Regions from separate parts of the Homo sapiens genome. Here all the other regions are linked to region 7. Evidence: promoter capture Hi-C in 16 types of primary human blood cells and fetal thymus (Javierre and others, 2016). All regions are on one chromosome and are shown on one strand. Each heading gives the region's core, a stretch centred on a gene start or on the middle of the fragment in contact. The rest is flanking DNA. Distances are from core to core; before and after follow the strand shown.

What was found. Contacts are between HindIII fragments. The CHiCAGO score rates a contact against its expected background, and 5 or more counts as called.
Region 1: a fragment that was not itself captured here is called in contact with the fragment with the promoter of TAF5L in region 7 in 7 of 17 cell types (fetal thymus, total B cells, total CD4 T cells and 4 more); the score reaches 7.7 in fetal thymus.
Region 2: a fragment that was not itself captured here is called in contact with the fragment with the promoter of TAF5L in region 7 in 1 of 17 cell types (naive B cells); the score reaches 6.3 in naive B cells.
Region 3: a contact is called between a fragment that was not itself captured here and the fragment with the promoter of TAF5L in region 7, in 5 of 17 cell types (fetal thymus, megakaryocytes, endothelial precursors and 2 more). The highest score is 11.0, in fetal thymus.
Region 4: a fragment that was not itself captured here is called in contact with the fragment with the promoter of TAF5L in region 7 in 12 of 17 cell types (erythroblasts, naive B cells, endothelial precursors and 9 more); the score reaches 13.1 in erythroblasts.
Region 5: a contact is called between a fragment that was not itself captured here and the fragment with the promoter of TAF5L in region 7, in 7 of 17 cell types (megakaryocytes, endothelial precursors, M2 macrophages and 4 more). The highest score is 10.4, in megakaryocytes.
Region 6: a fragment that was not itself captured here is called in contact with the fragment with the promoter of TAF5L in region 7 in 8 of 17 cell types (megakaryocytes, M1 macrophages, endothelial precursors and 5 more); the score reaches 9.2 in megakaryocytes.

The regions. Positions count from the first base shown.
Region 1 is chr1:230,167,312-230,170,087 of GRCh38, forward strand. All of the region lies in intron 1 of GALNT2 (polypeptide N-acetylgalactosaminyltransferase 2), which reads left to right. Among named protein-coding and RNA genes, the nearest start is that of GALNT2, 100 kb to the left of the region's middle. The HindIII fragment of the contact is 3,170 bases long and covers 1-2,776 here.
Region 2 is chr1:230,316,889-230,319,951 of GRCh38, forward strand. It overlaps PGBD5 (piggyBac transposable element derived 5), which reads right to left. Exons shown (of 7, transcript NM_001258311.2): 7 at 1-3,063. Among named protein-coding and RNA genes, the nearest start is that of PGBD5, 110 kb to the right of the region's middle. RefSeq lists enhancers at 1-294, 295-794. The HindIII fragment of the contact is 791 bases long and covers 928-1,718 here.
Region 3 is chr1:230,275,211-230,277,956 of GRCh38, forward strand. The region is part of intron 15 of GALNT2 (polypeptide N-acetylgalactosaminyltransferase 2); the gene reads left to right. Among named protein-coding and RNA genes, the nearest start is that of PGBD5, 150 kb to the right of the region's middle. The HindIII fragment of the contact is 4,857 bases long and covers 1-2,746 here.
Region 4 is chr1:230,300,386-230,303,281 of GRCh38, forward strand. No RefSeq gene overlaps it. Among named protein-coding and RNA genes, the nearest start is that of PGBD5, 120 kb to the right of the region's middle. The HindIII fragment of the contact is 1,425 bases long and covers 689-2,113 here.
Region 5 is chr1:230,254,851-230,258,062 of GRCh38, forward strand. GALNT2 (polypeptide N-acetylgalactosaminyltransferase 2) reads left to right here. Exons shown (of 16, transcript NM_004481.5): 11 at 368-494. Among named protein-coding and RNA genes, the nearest start is that of PGBD5, 170 kb to the right of the region's middle. RefSeq lists enhancers at 1-424, 425-925. The HindIII fragment of the contact is 4,016 bases long and covers 1-3,212 here.
Region 6 is chr1:230,236,686-230,239,854 of GRCh38, forward strand. It overlaps GALNT2 (polypeptide N-acetylgalactosaminyltransferase 2), which reads left to right. Exons shown (of 16, transcript NM_004481.5): 6 at 1-40. Among named protein-coding and RNA genes, the nearest start is that of GALNT2, 170 kb to the left of the region's middle. The HindIII fragment of the contact is 3,191 bases long and covers 211-3,169 here.
Region 7 is chr1:229,624,518-229,627,449 of GRCh38, forward strand. It overlaps TAF5L (TATA-box binding protein associated factor 5 like), which reads right to left and starts at 1,605. Exons shown (of 5, transcript NM_014409.4): 1 at 1,368-1,605. It overlaps URB2 (URB2 ribosome biogenesis homolog), which reads left to right and starts at 1,730. Exons shown (of 10, transcript NM_014777.4): 1 at 1,730-1,839. RefSeq lists enhancers at 514-563, 2,224-2,303 and silencers at 1,054-1,243, 1,334-2,033. The HindIII fragment of the contact is 3,723 bases long and covers 1-2,932 here.

The DNA of each region.
Region 1 (2,776 bases), core at 41-2,540, 540 kb after region 7:
ATTTTTAAAATTTTTTGTAGAAGCAGGGTCTCACCACGTTGCCCAGGCTGGTCTTGAGCTCCTGGGCTCAAGTTGTCCTCCCACCTTGGCCTCCCAAAGTGCTAGGATTACAGTCGTGAGCCACCACTCCCAGCATGGAGCCAGTTCTGACTCAGTGGTTACAGAGCAGGCCTAGGAAGGAACCAGTTGTATGGAAGTTAGGCCCTCATGGGAAGGATTTAACCAGGTGGTCATGGGAGATGGTGGCACCTACTGGTGACAAGGAGCATTGCACTTTAGTTCTGTGAGACCTGCTTGTGGGCTGAGGTGAAGTGGGGAGGAAAGCAGCCTTGCGGGGATATTGACATGGAGGTCAGGGAACTGCCGAGCGTGGAGGAGCGCCGTGGTGATGGGAGGAAGGGGCGGTGGAGCAGCACGGGTGTGAAATGTGCAGGGCTGCAGCCTGGCCGGCTGACGAGGCTGCCTCCTGCTGGCCTCCCTGCGGCTGCTCCACTGTGGCCCTTGGGCCCCGCTCATCACCAAGTGCTGCCTGAGGGCTTCACCTCTCTCCTCCCACCTTTTTTTCTTACCTATTGGCAATGATTATTTTTAAATTTTTAAAATGCAATTGATTTTTACATAAATCACATGGGAAATAATTTTCTAAAATACCCCCCCCTTTTTTTTGTAAAGAGACATTTTCTAGTCCAGTGTGCAGAAATTCTTCATTTTTCTAAAGTAAAAGAACCTGCTTCAGCTGTGGTTGGGAAACCCAGAACAAGAAGTGAGCTGCAGTTGAGAGAGGGCTTTGTGTGCCACCCCCTGACTGGGGAGGCGGTGGACTCGGAGCAAGTGTTAGAAAATGGAGCCATAAAAGACTCCTTAAAGTGTCGGGCGCTCAGCTAACTTAGGGCTAGAATTATATATCATCTCTTAAAGGACCTGCTGTTCTTGCCTTCAGGAATGGGAAGTTATCACCAGGAGCTAAGAGCTGACCTGCTTCATAAACTCTTACTTAGACCTAGGAATGAGGAAAAGCTGCATGCGAGTGGCATCCCTTGTGCTCGCTTTCTCTGGGCTAAAACGTTTAGGATGGTCTGGCAGCTCTTGAAGAGAGGATGGTGGCGTGGAATAGATTCCTCTGAGGCCTTGCCCCTCCTGTCCCCGGAGCTGAGCTGATTATTCTCATTGGAAGATTGGCTTTCGAGCATTTATCAAGAGATTTGTACCTGAGTTTTCTTGAACGAAGAGGGAGGCAAGAGGGCTTAAAATTTCCATTAAAAATGAACAGGCACCCAGGAAATACATGATTGACGGATGTTGGCCCAGGAGTTTTCAGTGTAGTTGCTTTCCCTTTAGGTAAATAGGATTATGCGCACATTTTTGTAATTTTTTACAATTTTATTTTTTTCTAGAACAGTTTTAGACTTACAGAAACATGGGGAACATTGTGCAGAAAGTTCCTATATATATCATACCAAGTTTCCCTGTTATTAAAATCTTACATCAGTATGATTCATTTATTGTAAAGAACCAGTATTGATATGTTATTAACTAAAGTTCTCTCTTTATTCAGATTTTTTACAACATCCCCTTGTGTTCTTTTTCTGTTTTAATATGTTATCCAGAATACCACATTCCAGTTAGTGATTATGTCTTCTTACTGTGACATTTTTTTAGACTTTCCTTTTTTGTTATGACCTTGACGGTTTTGAGGAGGCTTGGTCAGGGATTTTTTAGAATATTCCTCGTCTGGGGTTTGTTTGATGTTTTTTCTCATGATTAGATGAGAGTTATGGGTTTGGGAGAGGAAGACCACAGAAGTAAAATATGCATAAATTTGTAAACAAGTTGTTGAATGAGTTAATTATGGAGAGAAAGGGAAGTTTAGTACCCCTGAATAGTAACTGGAAGAGGAGTAAAGGCTGGACCCCCAGATTGGAAGAAGGCAAGTTTAATGTTCTTAATGATGGGACTTAATGTCTAACTTGTGTCATGCCTTATAGTTCAAAGGGGATGGGATAGAGTGGTTCTTACATTTTCATGTTATATCTTGGGAAACTGAGGCTCAGAGAAGCAGCCTGAGTTGCCTAAGGTCATAGAGATAGACCAGGATTTACTGGATATGCCAGTGCATTTGCAAACTATTCCTAGTTGCATTTTCTATGCCCAGAGGTTCTAGACTCAACTGGCTGGGTCACCGATGGCCATTTCATCTGTGCGTAGCTATAGGGATTTAAATAGGAGGATTTTTGTTAAATGAAGACAATTGACCGACTGTGCGTGGAATCAATGTGCAGGATGATTCACCAGGCTTTCTGCCTGTTAGAGAAGTTAAATGGTTGAGAATTAATAATTATGCGATTGTAGTTCACGACTTCAGCACAAGTCATTGTTACAGTTCTCAAATGTTGAGCAGCCCCACGTTATTCCCCACCAGTGTGTTTTTCTCTGAGGTTACACAGTAAAATAAGTGAAGTGCTGACCTTTATCATAACATATTTTTTATTTGTGAGCAAGTGGAGTATGTATAAAGCAGTTTGTGACTTTGAATCCAAAATAGAAATTTGCCCTCCTCTCATTTTCGCAGCATTGAGTTTCATAAACTAAGTTGGAGCAGTGAAAGTGAAACTGGAAATGCATGGATGAAGCCAGTGGTTCTGAACACTGAGAACTGCCTGGGAGCTTCTAGAAAAACCCCCAAGGCTGGGTCCCATTCCCTAAAGTTGTAATTATATTGGCCAGGGCAGGAACAGGCCTTGGGAAATCCAAAACTTGGCCTTTCTGTCTTGTTCCT
Region 2 (3,063 bases), core at 73-2,572, 690 kb after region 7:
TCCCCAGATACACACACGCATACCTGGCTCTCAGGGCAAGTTGCAGGTTGGCAAGTCCTGGTCAAATGCAGTGTGACTGCAGCCTCTTGAGGAGGCTCAGACTCTTGTGTTTGCAGGGATGTGCTAAGCCAGGTGCATGTGATGCCTGCCAAGCAAGGTGGAGGGTCTGGGGGTTGCTGAGTCCAGCAGCAATGGTGACTGCCACCTCCCCCACACGGGGTCTCGGCCTCTGGCTGGAGCCTTCTTTCGGCGGAGAATCAGCCTGCTCTGTGCCCCCAACGTGTTTCAGTCATGGCACCCTCAAGGGCACAGACCACGTTGGGGTAACACGTGCCCAGTTCTTAGCACAATGCCTGGCCTGTAGCAGTTCAGAAGCAGCAGTGGCTGAGAACCAGGAAGCCCTGGAGCAGACAGAGTGAGGGTCAACCTGGCTCCACACCCTGTAGAGTCACCACGGCTCTCAGAGTGTCACTTTCCCATCACAAAAGGGGGACCGATGGTTGTCAGCTCCCAGGGCAATGCTGAGGACTCAGCAAAGGAACCATACAGGGAGACGTGACCTGCTGGAACAGAAATGCTCCATGTGCATTAACTGTCACTCTTTAGTCCAGCGAGGCTTGGGTGAAGACGGCAGAAGAATGAATCAAAGACTAGCGAGACGCACCAAGAACAGAGGTGCGCTGCCGGGGGCTGACCCTTGGGGAGGGGAGGGCCGAGGCTGATTTATCTGGCGGGCTCAGCCTCACCCTTCACTCCTCACTGAATTTCCTTGGCCATAAAGTGCCCCTTCCACCTGAGGGAGCCAGGAGGCTTGACACGTGAGGGAAGCCGCACACACTCCTCCATCGTCTTCCTAGGTCTTTCACACAAGCCGATGTCCTCCCCGCCCTTTCTGTTTTCATCTCCAAATACATGCACACAAGGTCAAGCTTCCAGGCAACTAAGGAAAAAACCTGAAGAATAGTATCTGCTTGTAGAGTAGCTAGTGACATGGAGCGCACAATCAAGTCTCCCGCAGGAGTCTCCTCATTACGACCGTGTATACATGGGTATACACGGAAGGGTGAAGGTGCCCCACCCTCCCCGGAACACAGTTCACACAGAGCTGCCACCAGCGCCAGCACCACCGCCCTACACTCAAGAGAGGCTGCCCGGCCCCCACCAGACAGGGGTCAGAGCTAGGAGAATGTGCCTGGGCTGCTGGAGAACTGGGGTGCGCACTGGGCACCCCAGGGAGGGAGGGACACAGAGATGGCTAAATGGCAGCGAGCTGCGTGGCCAGAGGGCATGCTTACTCTCTGGTGCTATTTTATGGCAACAGCTCTAAGTGCCACTTTGGTACCTGATACTCTTTATTTCTTATTGGGAGAGAATAACATACCTGCAAAGAAGGCTGAGAAATATTCTCGAAGATGAGACACACAGAAGCCACGGAGAAAAAGGGATTAAGTGATGGAGTCAAAAGTGAGAAGCCTCAGTCATGTTCCTGATAAGAACGGAAGGTATTTGGGCAGACAGCCAAGCCCGCATTGACTGACACAGGGCCGTAACAGGAGAGATTTCTTCACAGACAGAACTGTTTTCCAAAGCAAGCTGCAGAGGCCACCGGTGGGGAGGGGGCACTGGGGACACTTTCCCTGGCCACTACCTTGTGAACTTCTGGGGACTTCTTTCGTTTGGAACTCCCACTACACAAGGCTAAGGCTTTCCACAGCCAAAGCTTGGCAAGCCCTCGCTTAAGGAAGAGGGACCAGAACCACAAAGCTGGCATGTGGGTGAAGACGGCGCCTCTGGCCTAGATCCCAGGGCACTCTGATGAGACCCCACAGCTGGCTCCACTCCCCCACCCCATCCCACTCTCCCCATACTGTGAGCTGGGGCCATCTGGGTGAGGAAATCGCTATGGTTCTTTCTGGCTCAGGGTCTGGTGTGGCCAAGGGCTTGCCCTGTCCAAATGCCCCCCAGAATAGTGGCTCCCTACCAGGCTAACTTCAGCTTCAGTAGTTGTTAAGCTCCAAAACACCCATCTCCATCTAGGACAAGAAAAGGACCCAGGGGGAGGGTGATGTCCCGGATCTCATAATGATTGTTTTCAGTATTCGGATCAGCAGAGAGGATTGGATATGGAAAGGAGAAAATCCCCCACAAAGTTGTCAGGTAAGTCAGGGATAAAATCCCCCGTCCTCGTGATGAATCAGGACAGCCAGTGCCCACAGCAGTTAGGACGCGGCCTCCTGCGTCAGGCAAACCCGGGTCTGCTTACCTGGGCGAACCATTGCACCACTCCATCTGGGCGTGGTGACAGTCCATGCCTAACCCACAGGGATCCCTGTGAGGAGTAAGGCTCTGGGGCAGAAGGGCCACCCCAAGCCGCCTGGAAGTGTGCCTGCCTGTTAGCCACCGCTGTCATACCTTTCAAACACAGCACCTGCGAGGATGCAGGAGACAGATCTGGGAGGTACCACACCCAAGGTCACCTTTCTCCCCCATCAGTGTCGTTGACTTGTTCTCGCCCCAATCCCAGGCAAGTGGGGAAATGTTTTTTTTTTGCCATGAATGCAGACTGGAGGAGAATGTGTGAGGCTTGCGTAGTTGCAAGGCCCCATGGCCCTCCCGGGTTTGCCCTGCTTCCTCTCAGCCTGATGCTTGGTGACCCCCCCTCACTGTTGGGGGGGCTGAGCCTGGGTCCCTGGGGAGGATGGTGACACACGGGCCACACAGGAAGGATTCAGAACCTTCCAGGCTCTGTCCTGGGGACCTGCAATCTTCTTGCTTCTTGCACGCAGCAGAGTTAACTCAATTTTGGTGACCAAGCCTCATCTGATTTAGTCAGTACTGGATGTGTTTGCTCAGAATGACCCAGCCACCAAGACTTTTCCATATGACTTGCCTGACTTTTGAAAGATGTCCCTAGTATAATGTCCCATGGACCACGGGAAGACGTTGTTCAAACTCGAGGCTTTTTTTTTTTTTTTTTTTTTGTGGCGGGGTGGGGGTTGGAGTCTCGCTCTGTCACCCAGGCTGGAGTGCAGTGGTGCGATCTTGGCTCACTGCAGCCTCTGC
Region 3 (2,746 bases), core at 56-2,555, 650 kb after region 7:
TATGCATGCCACATATATGCATATGTAAACACCGCATATATACATATATACACACCACATGTATACGTATATATAGATGCCACATTTATACATATATAAACGCCACATATATATACACACCACATATGTATACATATATATACATGCCACATATACATCTATAAACACCACATGTATACACGCCACATATATACATATGTAAACACCACATATATACACACCACATATATATACACGCCACATATATACATATATACAAACACCACATATATATACATATACACACACACACCACAGATACATACATATATATACATGCCACATAGATATACATATATAAACGCCACATATATATACATATAAACACACCATATATATACATATAGATACATGCTACATTTATATAAACACCACATATATATACGCCACATAGATATACAAGCACAACATATATACATGCCACATGTATACATATGTAAACACCACATATATATACACACCACATATACACACCACATATATATATACAAACACCACATATATATACATATATACATACACCACAGATATATACATATATATACATGCCACATATATATACAAATATACATGCCACATATATACATGTATATACATGCCACATAGATATACATATATAAATGCCACAGATATATACATATATAAACACCACATATATACATAGACACCACAGATACATACATATATACATGCCACATATATATACGTATATATACATGCCACATATATATACGTATATATACATGCCACATATATATACGTATATATACATGCCACATATATATACGTATATACATGCCACATATATATACGTATATATACATGCCACATATATATACATATATAAACACATATATACATATATAGACACCACAGATATATACATATATATACACACCACATATATATACATATATACACACACACACATATACACACAGTTTCTTTAAACATTTCAGAATAGACTTTCTACCTGCCTTGTAAGCCGGTTTTCTCTGACGTATTCCCTTGTGGCAGCTTGTGGACACACCCTTTCTCAAGGCATGGGGTAACAGTTAGTGTCAGGAATAGAAATGCAAGCACAAAAGGTCCTCCCTGTATGCCCATACTTGGAGTGCCTGCCCCTGTTCTTACAGTCGGTCCTTAGAGATAGATGGGATGTAGGGAAACTGAGGCACAGAACCTACTGGAGCCAAGAGCCTAAGCCAGCTTCTAGTCTAACCCTGATTTCACAACAGAAAAGTCTCAGAAAGTCATTGCCTCCACCCTGGAGTCATCTGGGAAGACCAAGGCCAGGACCGAGTCCCCGGTTCTGACCCCAGTTGTCAGGGAGACGCCTGCAGAGGGCCCTCTTTCACCTGTCTGTCTCCAAACCCCTGCGCCAGCTCTGGGTGCTCCTCCTTCCCTGCTCTGCAGAGTCCCAGCCTGTCCTGGCAGTGGGAGCCCCTCTCTAGGGTTCTGCTCACAATCCGCATCTCTAAATGTCCATCTGTGTTGATGACTTGATACCAAAATGTGTAAGGGAGTGCCTGTTAAACAAGAGAAGGCTAGCACCGCTTGGACCCAAACCACCTAGAAATTGCCTCACTCATTGGCCCCTCGAGAGGAAGCTCCTCGAGGGCAAGGCTGGCATCTGCTGAGCCAAGTACTGGGTGAGTCTCAAACACATTCCCCTGGGATGTAACGGAGCAGAGATGTCTTTGGATGTAATGGATTGATAAAGTGATGACTTTAGTTGACACCTTTTTAAAAAACAAATATTACTTCAATATTGCTTAATTTCAAGAATTGACAGGTGTTTCTGCTTCAGTCCCAGTTTTGGGGAACCATAACTGACACGGCTTAGGACCTTTGTGAAGCATGAAAAGACCTATAAATAATAAGTTTTTCTGGATGTATGGCATGTATAAATGGGGATCTGTTAGGTTTTAAACCCCAAGACTCAGGCTATTAGAGAGGATGTGGGGGCTGTTTCAGTAGAGTCTGACTGCCTTGAAAATCTGCGCTCCCCACCCCCAACCACAATCCCATCAGACAGACAGATCAGAGCCCACAAGGCCACCTGTGCGAGACGGAGCTGGGGTTTTGTTGTTGTTTTTCTAAGGTTCTTGATTTAGCTGATGCTTTGACACATGACAGGCAGTCCCTCCAGTGGCCAGAATCAGATTCCGTTCATTCCGAATTCTTTGTTGAGAAGATTCCTGGCTGCTCAGAGTAACAGGGCAGCCTCAATACATACACACTTTACATGACAATGGGGAAAAACAGCATGAGGGGTGATTGACAGCAACGAGGGAGCTGGAAATGAAAGAGGCAATGACAGGCACTTAGCAAAAGCCTCCCCGGCTCCTCTGATTGCACTGTCTTTCCCTGCTGGCAAGAACTCCAGGTGAGCAGGTGGACGGAAATAAGGAAAGCAGGGTACAAGTGACAACATCCTTGTGGTGTTTCGCGCAGGTCGGGTCCCCAGCACTGGGCTCCTCTGCCTGCACCGGCTCCTCCCTGCCTCACTCACTGGCCCCTCAAGAGGAAGCTCCTTAGCAAATTTTATCTTGGAACTGAACTGGCTTTGCCAGTTGGAACATTTGGTTTCCAGGCACGTCCATGTTTTCATATGTTGTGCATATTTGCAGAGTCAAAGGGGAAAGGGAGGCAGGAGTGAGAAAATTTAATTCTGCAATGTCAAAAGGATTTGCAAAAAATACTT
Region 4 (2,896 bases), core at 151-2,650, 680 kb after region 7:
TGTGAAAAGTAACATAGGCTTAGGTCCTGGGGATTAGGAGGTGAGCCTCTTTGTTTCGGGGTCGGGGCTCCTCGTTCTGCCCACCACACCTCCCATTAAGGCTTGCCATCATGATGGGCCATTACTGAAATGAGGGTGTTACCTGGGCAGTCGGGGTTTAAGGCCATCCCCACCACTGCGCACCAGCCCGCTGATCATGAGCACGGTGCTGGTCATAGTTTTTGAGACAGGGAGGTCCTAGAAGGCTCCAACAGCAGGAAAGGTAGGTTTCTCTAGCACTCATGGGTGGATGCCTTAGAAATAAGAGAGAAACAAACAGCCTCTGGGCCTTGAGAGGTTTAGATTTCCCATTTGAAGCAGAGGTGGTGTGGAGGGGAGGGCCGGGGCCAGCACCTGTTCAGAAAATGCATTCCCCAGAGATGGAAGCAGGTGACAGTGTTCTCACATTAGTTGTGCTGAGAGAAAAAGTCCTTCGTTCAGCTGCGCCCAAGGCTTTATTCACAGACTCCCGTCTCTCCCAGGGGTGCTGGAAAGACCTTGGGGACCTCCTCACCCTTCTTGCTGGAAGATGCCCGTACCGCAGCGCACGAGACCCCAGCTTTTCCGGGGCGGCTGCACTGTCAACTCAATGCCTAGCAAGGATGCGTCCGGCTGGGCATAAAGACAGCCCGGCCCGCTAAGCAGAGAAAGCTTCCCCTTCACCACCAGGCTGCTGACAGGTGTGAGTGGGGCAGGGCAGGGAGGAATCACTGAGGCACACCCAGGAAGCCTGACGAGAGGGGCCAAGCTCTGTCCGGACGTGGTGGCTGAGCACCCTGCAGAGGCTCAGTGGCCCTGGCAGCCCCTCGCCTGCTCTCTGGAGGCCTTTGCTCTCTAGTCCCCTCCCTTGAACTCTGAACTTCCACGGGTGAGGGGGGTGATAGAATAATGGCTTTATTTTCCCAGTCTGAAAAAAATAATATAGAAGAAATAACAGCTGGGCCTTCCTCTGCATGGAGTTTCCGCTCCCACGAGCATGTCCGTGTTTAGCATCGGCAGCCACCTGGCCATGCTGGACTCGGTGTGGCTGTGTCTGCAGTCGCATAGACATTTATGGTATTTCCAGTGGCCTGTCAACAGTGCCTGGTGTTCTCTAACAAGTGCTGTGGACTCCAAGGGCCTGACCACCTGCAGGGCTTGAGAACCACAGTTCAAGCAAGGTGAGACAGGGTCGGCAAGGCTGGCCTTGGCGTCTCCACAGGTCAGTTGGTCCTCAGCCAGGCATGCCACCCTGTGGGCTTTGGGGCTGCTTTCCCTCTGGAGTCTAACTCAAAGCCTTTTTTTTTTTTTTTTTTTGAGATAGAGTCTCGCTCTGTCACCCAGGCTGGAGTGCAATGGTGCGATCTCTGCTCAATGCAACCTCTGCCTCCTGGGTTCAAGCGATTCTCCTGCCTCTGTCTCCTGAGTAGCTGAGATTACAGGCACCCGCCACCACACCCTTTTGTATTTTTGGTAGAGGCCAGGGTTTCACCATGTTGGCAGGCTGGTCTTGAACTCCTGACCTCAAGTGATCTGCCTGCCTCAGCCTCCCAAAGTGCTGGGATTACAGGCATGAGTCACCACGCCCAGCCTGGAAGCCTCTAAATGAGCCAGGTGTCCCTGTGTCTTTGAGAGCACTGAGGGCTGGGCTCCAGTGGGCAGGGCAGCCCATCCGCGATGTCAGCACATGGATCTCTGGCTCCTTGTTAGACAGGAGCTCTGTACAGTAGAGTGGCGGGAAGGTCACAGAGCCCTCTCTCTCTACAAGGTCTCTGAGTAAAAAGTGCCTGAAGTGTCCACCTCCAGCACCGCAGCATGCTGGAATTGCCGGCTGTCTCTCGAGTTTCCTTTTAGAACCTTCTCTAGAGCTCTGCGATTCACAGAATGGATTCACAGCTGCTAGAGTGGTAAAACCCATTGCAGATTGTTCAGACGATTAGAAAAAATTCTCTTGTATGGAGCCCAAATTTGCCTCTAATTCTGACCCCTGAGCTATATTGAATTAGTTCAGTCTTCTTCTCATGGCAGGTTCAAATCTTTAAAGCTGATTGGAGACCTCAGCAAGGCCCTTCCAGTTTCCCCACTTCTTTATGGAAGCTTCTTCCCAGTTGGGATGCACCTGAGACAGCCCCTCCTCTAGATCCGGCCTTCTTTACTCACTCCTCCTACAAATCAACTCAGGGGGGGCCATACTTTGAGCTCTGTGCTCTCTCAATTCAAATTGCACTTTTAAGAAGTGACAACAATGACCTCTGAATTTCACGTTGCCTTGTGTATTTTCTAAGTGGTTCCATAGAATGAAAGCAGGTTTTTCCAGGTTGGCTAAAATCTACCTGCAGCCACATCTTAGCCATGTGGTATAATAACTAAAAGTATGGGCCATGGAATCAGGCTGCTTGAATTCACATCCTGGCTTGATCACTTACGAGCTATGTGTTTTTGAGCAAGTTACTTAACCTCTCTGTGCTTCAGTTTTCCATCTGCCAATTAGTGATAATAAGAGTGCCTACCTCAAAGCGTTGTTGTTAGGATTAAATATTTTTAATCCTAAATTAATGTGTGTTAAAGCCTTTAGTAGAATGTGTGGTTCTTAAAAAGTGGCATTAAAACGATGTCAGCTGTTGTTATCCTTAAGCTTCTCTGCAACCCCAGAGTACCCAGAACTGTGTTGAGGACCCACTGTCTCCCAATCAGTAATCATTAACGGGTCCAGATACTGTAGCACCATATGAAAGCACCCGGGTGTCTTAATACAGTATCTAGTCTCAACTTTCATCCTAAGGATGGTGAGTCTGGGGTCACAGTAGACCTCACCATCCATCAAGTTGGCCATCACTTCCTTTGAGGGCAGCCCCTCGAAAACACACGGACAGCTCAC
Region 5 (3,212 bases), core at 639-3,138, 630 kb after region 7:
CAGTAGTTACGATGATACTGGGGTATACATGATCTTATGCCAAGAGGCCTTTATATTTACAGTAGACCAAGAAGCATTCTTGTCTCAAGGTGTCTACTCCACATCTGAAAAATATTTCCCCGTGAACATTTTTTCTTGATTGTATTGTGGTCCAGAGATCCAAGTGTGTCAAATGTCTCTCCTTTAGAGAGTTCTGCATCAGGTTCTGGAAGGAGGAAGGTCCTTATCAGATCTCCTTCAGCAGCAGAGGGCATGGGAGCCCCATGATGGGATGGTCAGGGGGCCTCTGTACCTGCTTGGTGTGTCTGCTGTTGCAGAGGTGCGTCCCAGGCTCTGTCAGTCACCTGTGTCTTGTTCATCGTCTCAGAGATCTCGTTCCGCGTGTGGCAGTGTGGTGGCAGCCTGGAGATCATCCCGTGCAGCCGTGTGGGACACGTGTTCCGGAAGCAGCACCCCTACACGTTCCCGGGTGGCAGTGGCACTGTCTTTGCCCGGTAAGTAGTGAAAGGCTGAGCGGGGTCCAAAACATTGATGACTACCCTGAAAGCAGGACCTGACCTTGGGCTGTTTGAGGACAGATGTCCTTCAGTGGGTGTGGTGCATTTATACAATGGAATACCACTTAGCAATTGAAAGGCGCATTCCACGGATGCAGGATACAACCTGGGCGCCTTTCCAGGGCATGATGCTGAGTGAGAGAAGCAGTTACATACATGATTCCACTCATGTCACAGCCTCATAAAAACACAGCTTTAGGGATGGGGCCAGACCAGTGGTGGCCAGGAGCTGTGATGGCAGGAAAGCGGGGAGTGTGACTGCAGAGGGGCAGCACCAGGGATGTTTGGAGGAGGGACGGAGCTGTTCTGTCTCCTGGTTGTGGTGGTAGTTGGACAAATCTTCATGAGTGTGAAGGCTCTTAGAACTGTACACCACCCCCCAAAATGTTATGGGAAAATTTTTTAAAGAAGAAAGTTCATTTTATAACCATTCAAGGTGCAATTAAAAGCAACATTGTCTTAGTCCATTTTATGCGTCTCTAACCAAATACCACAGACTGGGTAATTTAAAATGAACAGAAATTTATCTACTCATAGTTCTGGAGGCTGAGAAGTCCAAGATCAAGGTGCTGGTGTCTGGCGAGGGTCTTCTTGATGTGTCATCACATGGTGGGAGGGCAAAGAGAGGGCAGGAAAGAGCAAGAGGGGGCCAAATTCTCCCTTTTATAATAGCATCAATCCCCCCCATGAGAGTGGAGCCCTCATGGCATAGTCACTTCTTAAAGGTCACCTCTTAAAGGCCTCACCTCGGCTGGGCATGGTGGCTCATGTCTGTAATCCCAGCGTTGCGGGAGGCCGAGATGGGCAGATCACCTGAGTTTGGGCAGATCAGGAGTTTGAGACCAGCCTGGCCAACATGGAAACCGCATCTCTACTAAAAATACAAAAATTAACCGGGCATAGTGGCAGGCGCCTATAATCCCAGCTACTCGGGAGGCTGAGGCAGGAAAATCGCTTGAACTCGGGAGGTGGAGTTTGCAGTGGGCCAAGATCGTGCCTCTGCACTCCAACCTGGGCAACAGAGCGAGACTCTGTCTCAAAAAAAAAAAAAAAAGCCTCACCTCTTAATACTGTTATAATGGCAATTAAAGTTTAACATGAGTTTTGGAGGGAACAAACATTCAAACCATAGCAAATATTAAAGTCAAGCTGTACTAATTGTGTATACCACAAGACATCGTGACACAGAGTCACGATTCTTGATGGAGAGTAGATATATTTTAGTAAACATGAAGATGCCAACGGAAGGGCTTTCCGAAAGTAAAATAGCAAATAGCCGTTCTATCAAGCCAAGTGTCCTTCTAGGGAATTCTCTTACATGCTAAAGATAGAACAGCGTACAAGCCAGATCTCAGGGAGATTGCCTTCTCTTGAGTGTAGACAGCAAAACACACAGCTAAATAAGGTATTTTCAAATAGTAATCAATGCTGTGAAGAAGGTAAGATGCAGTCATGTGGTCGGGCATGATTAGGACAAGCAGTAGGAGAGGTTTTCATGGTCAAGAGAACCTTTGAGGAGGTGTTATGTGAGTTCAGACTTGAAAGGTGGGAGGAGGTCCCTCTGGGACCCCGAGGAATCAGACTACCTGCAGGAGGAGCAGATCCAGGCTGCTGAGGTGCGTTTGGCATATCAGCCAAATGGAAGCCAAGGGTAGCTGGAACCTAGAGAGTAAGGGGACAGTGCACAGGGGCAGAAGAGCTAGACAGGCCCGGGCCATGCACCTTTGCAGGTCATGGGAAACGTTGGATGTTATTTGATTCTGAAGGAAAACACTGGGGCTTTTCAGCAGTGCCTGATGTCTGTTTTATGCTTTGGAAAGGTCCGTATGGTTGCTGGGCAGAGGGTGGCCAGGTGGTGACCCTATGGTGAAACAATGGTACGAGTGCCCCCTCCACTCTTGGAGCCAGAAGCAAGGGTCCTGTGAGCACTGTTGCAGTAGCCCAGGCCAGAGATGTGATACAGTCATGCACCTGTAACAGCGTTTCGGTCGGTGACAGTAGTCCCATAAGATTATAATACCGTGTGTTTACTCTACCTTTTCTTTGTTTAGATACACAAATACTTACCATTGTGTTACAGTTTCCTCCAGTGTTCAGGACAGTCATGTGCTCTACACGTTTGTAGCCTAGAAGCAATAGGCTGTACCATGTAGCCTAGGTGTATATTAAGGATACACCATCTAGGTTTGTGTAAATATACTCTATGATGTTCACACAACGACAACATCGCCTAAGGATGCATTTTTCAGGTTGTATCCCTCTCATTAAGCAGCACCTGGCTGTACCTGGAGCAGGTGTGTAGCAGTGGAGATGGGGTGAGATCCAGCTCCATGGTGAAGCAGGCAGCTGTTTGCTAATAGGGCGGCAGAGAGAAGGGAGGTAGAGCGGGAAATTAATTTAGGGTGATGCCCAGGAGCTTTGTTACACAACTGCGCTGGCGTGCTGCCCCTACAGAAATAGGGAAAGCCTTGGGGTGGGTGTGGGTGTGGGGATTGCTAGCTTATCTTTTGTCTAGTTTTTTTCTTGAGACAGAGTCTTGCTCTGTTGCCCAGGCTGGAGTGCAAAGGTGCGATCTCGGCTCACTGCAACCTCCACTTCCCAGATTCAAGAGATTCTCCTGTCTCAGCCTCCCAAGTACCTGGGCTTACAGGCATG
Region 6 (3,169 bases), core at 556-3,055, 610 kb after region 7:
ATTGAGAAAGTGCGAGTTCTTAGAAATGATCGACGAGAAGGTAAGATTCTTCTTAATTCAGCGCCAAGACAGTTGAATTCTGACTTTTCCTGTAATAACATAAAGAAGTGCTTTAGCTCAAAGAGCAATTAATTGTCTAGCTTTTTTCTGTCTCCCTCTACCAGAGCCGCTTGGGAGACTTCTCCCAGCAAACACAGGAAAGACATTAAAAGCTTGACTAATTGAAATTATTAGTATATTAGAGCAGGATCAAATTACATTTTCATTTATGTATTTAGAAAATTGGCTTCTTTCTTTCACAACCTAGGAAGTCTTATCAGTCCCTTGAATACAAAAGTTTAGAAGAAAAACAAAGATTTAGCAATAAGAAGTTGAATGACTCCATGCTCCAGGCATCTGATAAAATAACCGGGATTCAAGTTTGACAGCCTGCTGAAGGTGAACCATCCAAAATGGGGAGACAGTACTGCAATTATATGCTCATGCGATTTTGCAAATGCCAACCTCGGAACCTTCTGTCAGTCTTATCTGTGCTGGAGCTGAGCTCATGAGGACTCTTTTATTGGCAGTTAGAAGAGAGGCTGTAAAGGAGGAAAGTAGTACACTGGAGTGTCTGGGAAGGAAGCTCCAATCACAATGTAATTAACATCCAGTGTGTCAGTGCTGTTAGAGACCCTGAAGACTGAATTGTTAGGCTCCTCCATGGTTGGGAGAAATCTTTCAGTATAGGAAAATCACAGAGCTTTGGAACCCATGCCACATTTGCTATTTAAGTCTGACTGTTGATCCAGGGGTGGTGATTGTATTCCTTCATCAGTGTAAAACTCTTTCTTCTCATTACATATGCACTCCAGCTGGAGTCAAGGAGTGAAGTTTTTCTTACCAGGAATCTTATTGGCCAACACAGTGATTGAGCCTGTTAGAACAGCATCATATTTTAACCAACTAGGGTCATCAACCTAGACATTCAAGATACATAAACAGTGGGATAAGCCTTGCCTTCTAAACAAGCTGTTTGCCAGACTCACATCAGTCCACCAAGCCTGGAATAAACCAAAAAGGGGGCAATTTGCTGCCCCCTAAACACCTTCAAAATAACTTTATGAATTTAAACCCAAAGTATCTGCCATCCTACCCCATCACCTGGCACAGGCTTTAAAAAAAAAAAAAAAGAGAAGTGGGGAAGGAGGAAAGAGAGATAGTGTTGGCACTGTAAATCACTTATGAGCCTTATCTAACAGTGTCTTTGTCTTTAAACTGCTTAGAAATCAGAACAATGCTTCTCAGTATTAACTTTCCGCTAGAATGTTCATTTCGGTTGAACCCGTGCTGATACGTTGTTTCGGGGAAGGCATGAGAAGGGTGGGTTGGGAGAAGCCAGATTATGGAAAGCCTATATGGAACAGCTGAAGTCTGTAACAATTGAATGAGAAAATATGTGCACACTTGCACACACACTCATGTATATATGTACCCATGTGTGTGTATAAGATCCCATCTATGTAAGCATACACACAAAGTGCTTGTAGTGATGCTACTAGATGACAAAGTAAATTAATTGCCTAAAATATTATGGTAGTGAAAGCAGTCTTAGGATCATTCTTCTGTGGATTTTATTGTGCATTGATTCTTAACCTAGCAATTTATTAGAAGCACCTAGGGAATTTAGGACCATGTCTTGCCCTCATTCACAATTAAATAGAAATTTCTGGATTTCTCTGGGTGGGGTGTGGGCAGCTGCATTTTTAAAAGCTGCTAAAATGATGCCGATGTACAGTGGAAGTTGAGAGCCTAGTACTTTCATTTTACAGATGGAAATACTAAATCTAAAGAGGCTAGGTGGCTTTCTCAAGGCCCTTACAGCTATTTAATGACAATAGTAGGACCAAAACCATGTTAATAATGAGATAAATCTTTTTCTCTGCATTTGTGGAGATAGTCAAGTGGTATTTCTTTTTTTAATCTGTTAATATGGTGAAATACATTGGTTGATTTTCAGATGTTAAACCAGCTTTGCATTCCTAGCATAAGCCCCAGTTGGTCATGATACAGTATCCTTTTAATATATTTTTGTTAAGGATTTTTATACCTGTGTTCATGGGAAACATTGGTCTGTAATTTTCTTAAAATGTATTTTTCCAGTTTTGGCATTATGGTTTACTAGCCTTATAAAACAAGATGGAAAGTGTGCCCTTCTATTTTATTTTCTAAAAGAGTTTGTATAATATTTTAATTATTTCTTTTTTAAATGTTTAATAGAATTAGCCAGTCTGGACCAAGAATTTTCTTTATGGAAAGATTTTTGATAACTAATTCAATCTCTTTAATGGATATAGGCGTATTCAGATCTGCTGTTTCTTTTTGTGTCTGTTTCAAGAAATTTTGTATTTTATCAACGTTTTTATATTTATTGGCTCAAAGTTGCTTATGATATTGTCTCTTTTTTTACTGTTTGTCGGATTAGTATTACTATTTTATTGATTTTGGTAATTTATATCTTCTTATTTTCTTTATCTGTCTGCTGTTCATCGACGCTGTTCATTTTTTAAAAGAACCAATATTTGGCTTTTGTATTAGGATTCTCCAAAAGGACAGAACTAATAGGATAGATGTATATATAAACAGGAGTTTATTAAGGAATATTGACTCACACAATCACAAGGTGAAGCCCCACAATAGGCCATCTGCAGCCGAGGAGCAGGGAAGCCAGTCCAAGTCCCAAAACCTCAAAAGTGGGGAAGCTGACAGTTCAGCCTTCAGTCAGTGGTTGAATGTCCAATAGTCCCAAAGCTGAAGAACTTGGAGTCCAATGTTCAAGGGCAGGAAGCATCCAGCGTGGAAGAAAGATGTAGGCCGGGGGAGACCAAGCCAGTCCAGTCTCTCTACATCCTTCTGTCTGCTTTTATTCTGGCCGTGCTGGCAGCTGATTAGATTGTGCCCACCCAGATTGAGGGTAGTTCATTTACATGTGGCGTAATCATTGGTGTGACTAGGTTTGGGTCTGCTCTTCGGCTGTTTCTTCTCTATTTGTACCATGTGCATTTTGCTTTTTGTAACTGTGTTCCTGCTTTCTTGCCTTCTTTTGGATTCAGTGATTTTTTTAGTATTCCATTTGAATTATTCTTGTAGCTTTTCAGCAATACTTTTCATGTATGCACAGTTGCCCTGA
Region 7 (2,932 bases), core at 355-2,854:
TTAAAAAGGTCGTTTTTTGGGAGGCTGAGGCGGGAGGACTGCTTGAGCCCAGGCCTGGGCAACATAGAGGCACCCTGTCTCTTAAAGATAAAAAAAAATCCACGTTTAAGTTATTCCTTATCATCGCATTTTATAGATGAGGAAACTACAGTTCAGAGAGGTTATGCAGATGGCTACATGGTTTCCATCCTAGGTCTACTGTCACCAAGCTCTATCCACTACATTATGCTGTTCCAAAGTTTAAAGATGTGGCCAGATGCATTTAACCTATTAAGCACAAAACTCCCTTTCCTACTCCCCCTTCCAAGTAGAGCTGTGACCAGGAACTGGGGCACAGCCTCCGTGTCCTCCCCTACATCCCCAACTCAGGTGTTGGCACACTTGAATCGCCTGATATAAGACACGCTCCGCACTTAATGTTCCTCTCAGCACAGCTCCCAACTGCTTGTTAGCAGGAGTCACCATTCCGAGATTCCAATCTGCAAGGTCAGTTTAGGTACAGTAATTTAAGACAGACACTGCATGGGACTGGCACTTACCTTCTGATCCCAGAACCACAAAGACTGCGAGATCCGCATTACAACGACTTTCACAACTGATGGGAGAACTGCATGTAGCGTTCCTGCACTCCACTTCCGCTAAGTCTAAAATGACACCACTGTTTCTAACCATCCACTCACTTCGGACCAACGCCTTATCGAATACATTTTCAAAAGCCTGGCAGCTTCGCGAGCTGGAGGTGGTGAACCCGTCCCACACCATGGGCGCACCAACCTTACCTTGCTGTCATGAGGCAACGAGCCCCGAGAGACACCCTTGCAGGTAAGCACTCTCCTGCAGCAGCTAGTCTAACTCTGGCTCCCCCGTGTCACACGCGGAGATCGACTCCACACCCACCCACGCACGATCACCATGTGCAAAGTTGAATCCCGACTTCGCCGCAAAGACATTTCCTTTTCCCCTACATGCAAAGGAGCTGTGGAGCCGTGCTCCCTGCTTGGCTGTCGGGCACTGGGATACCTTCCCCGCGGGCGCCCGCCACCTCCTCCCCGAGCCCGGCATCCAACCCGCAGGACCCACCCCTGCGCAGGAACGCGACGCCAGTCCAGGTGTAGCCGCCGACTGCAGGCCACGCCGCCGGCCGCAGCCCGGGACTCGGGAGGCCGAGGGCGGAGGCGCGGCCGTCGCGCCCGCGCAGAGCCGCCCGCCGCCCCCCAGCCCCGCCTCCCGCGCCCCACCCCCACCGCCCGCCGGCGGGAGCCAAGGCGCGCCCCGCCGAGGCCCCACCGCCCCGGCCCCCGCCCGCCCGCGCGCGCGCGCGCCTCGCGACCCTCCCGGCCCTCCCCGCCCGTGCTCCCGGCACTCACTGAACATCCCAGGCGGCTCCGGCTCCCCCCGCCGCCGCCGCCTCCGGGATCGGGTTGCTTCCGCCTCCGTCGTCTCTGCCGCAGGGTCTCACTCCGACGGCCGGCTCAGCTGGGCCCCCGCGCCCCGCGCCCCGCCGCCCCCGCCGCCGCTCTGGGCGGCCGCTCCATGACTGACTGACACGGAGCGGGCCGCGGGCTGGGCCGCTCGGGCCTCCAACGCGCAACCGTCTCCGCCAATGGGCGAGGCGCCTCGGCGCTCGGCTGGCGACGCCTGGCGTGCGTGCAGCCCCTCCCCGCTGCGCCGCCGGCGTCCGGCGGAAGGAGCGCGGGTACCGGTCCCACGTGGTGGGGACGCGGGACCCGTACAGCGGCCTCCGCCGCACCGGGACAGCAGCCGCCGCCGCTGCCGCCGTCCTCCCCTGTCTACCCGGAGCTGTCTCGAGCTGAGCCCCCTACCGGGCCGGATCCCGAGGTGAGTCCCCCACCTGCGGTCAGCCCCTGCGGGCAGCCAGGTCCCGAGGTGAGTCCCCCCACCCGGGGCTGGTCCAGAGGAGATCCCCCTACCTAAGGCCGGGCCCAGATGGGGGGCCCCCCAACCCTGCCCAGTTCCGGTGCCGCCAGCAGACTCTGGGCTGGAGCGGCTTCGGCACGCTCCATTCGCGAAGGCGAACTCCCTCCTGGCTCCTAGCTGCTCTCCCCTGGTTCTTGTTGCTTGGTCTCTTTCTGCTGGGCAGGGAGTGCTGGCAGGGCTGTGCTGTCCGCCCTGGACTTCGCATTGCCCGGTAAGGGCGGTTGGAGGCCCGGAGAGCCGAACTCTGGCGGAGCCGGGGAGAGCATCTCGGTTGTCTTTGTAGCCAGTTCAGCAAACACCTGTTATGCACTTTGTAGCTGTCGCGATGGCGGTTCTATGGTATTGAACTTAGAAAGTCAGGCATCGTTGAATTCGTTTTGGACATTTTGACAAAATAGGAAAACTGACAGCACTTGACGTTCTTGTTCTCTGCAGTAGAGTGAAGGATAACTTAATTTCTAAAATGAAAACGTCTTAACGTTCCTTTTTACTATAACTTTTAGGAAACTCAAAGCCAAGTTTACCCAGTTTAATAGTAACTGTAGGTGTTTGGTATGTTTGCTACCCCCGAGATTTCATGGTTTTTTGTTTTCTATTTTTAGTCTTTTCCTTGTGCAAGTATCTCTTGTAGAGTCTTTTTTGAAGTGTATGTGCGTTGTAAATTTATACACGACTGAATAAAAGTGTTAGTGGAAGGTTACTGTTGCAGCTGAAATAACTGTATTCCTTTGGGGTTTTCTTTTTCACTTGGAGACATATTACTTTCTCCGGATATTGCTTATGTATCTTTTCCTCTTTCAATTTGAAACCATGTATGAATGACTCTTTCCACAAGTAATGTAATCACTGATTTTGGCCTTGTTGAATTCCTGAACACTCACCTTTGTGGAAGTGATGTTTGATCATAGCTGGAATACATATAGTCCATCTTCTGTGTGTGCAGTCCATCTTTTGCTTGCTTTTGTCTGAATTTCCCCCAGAAAATTCTGGAGTC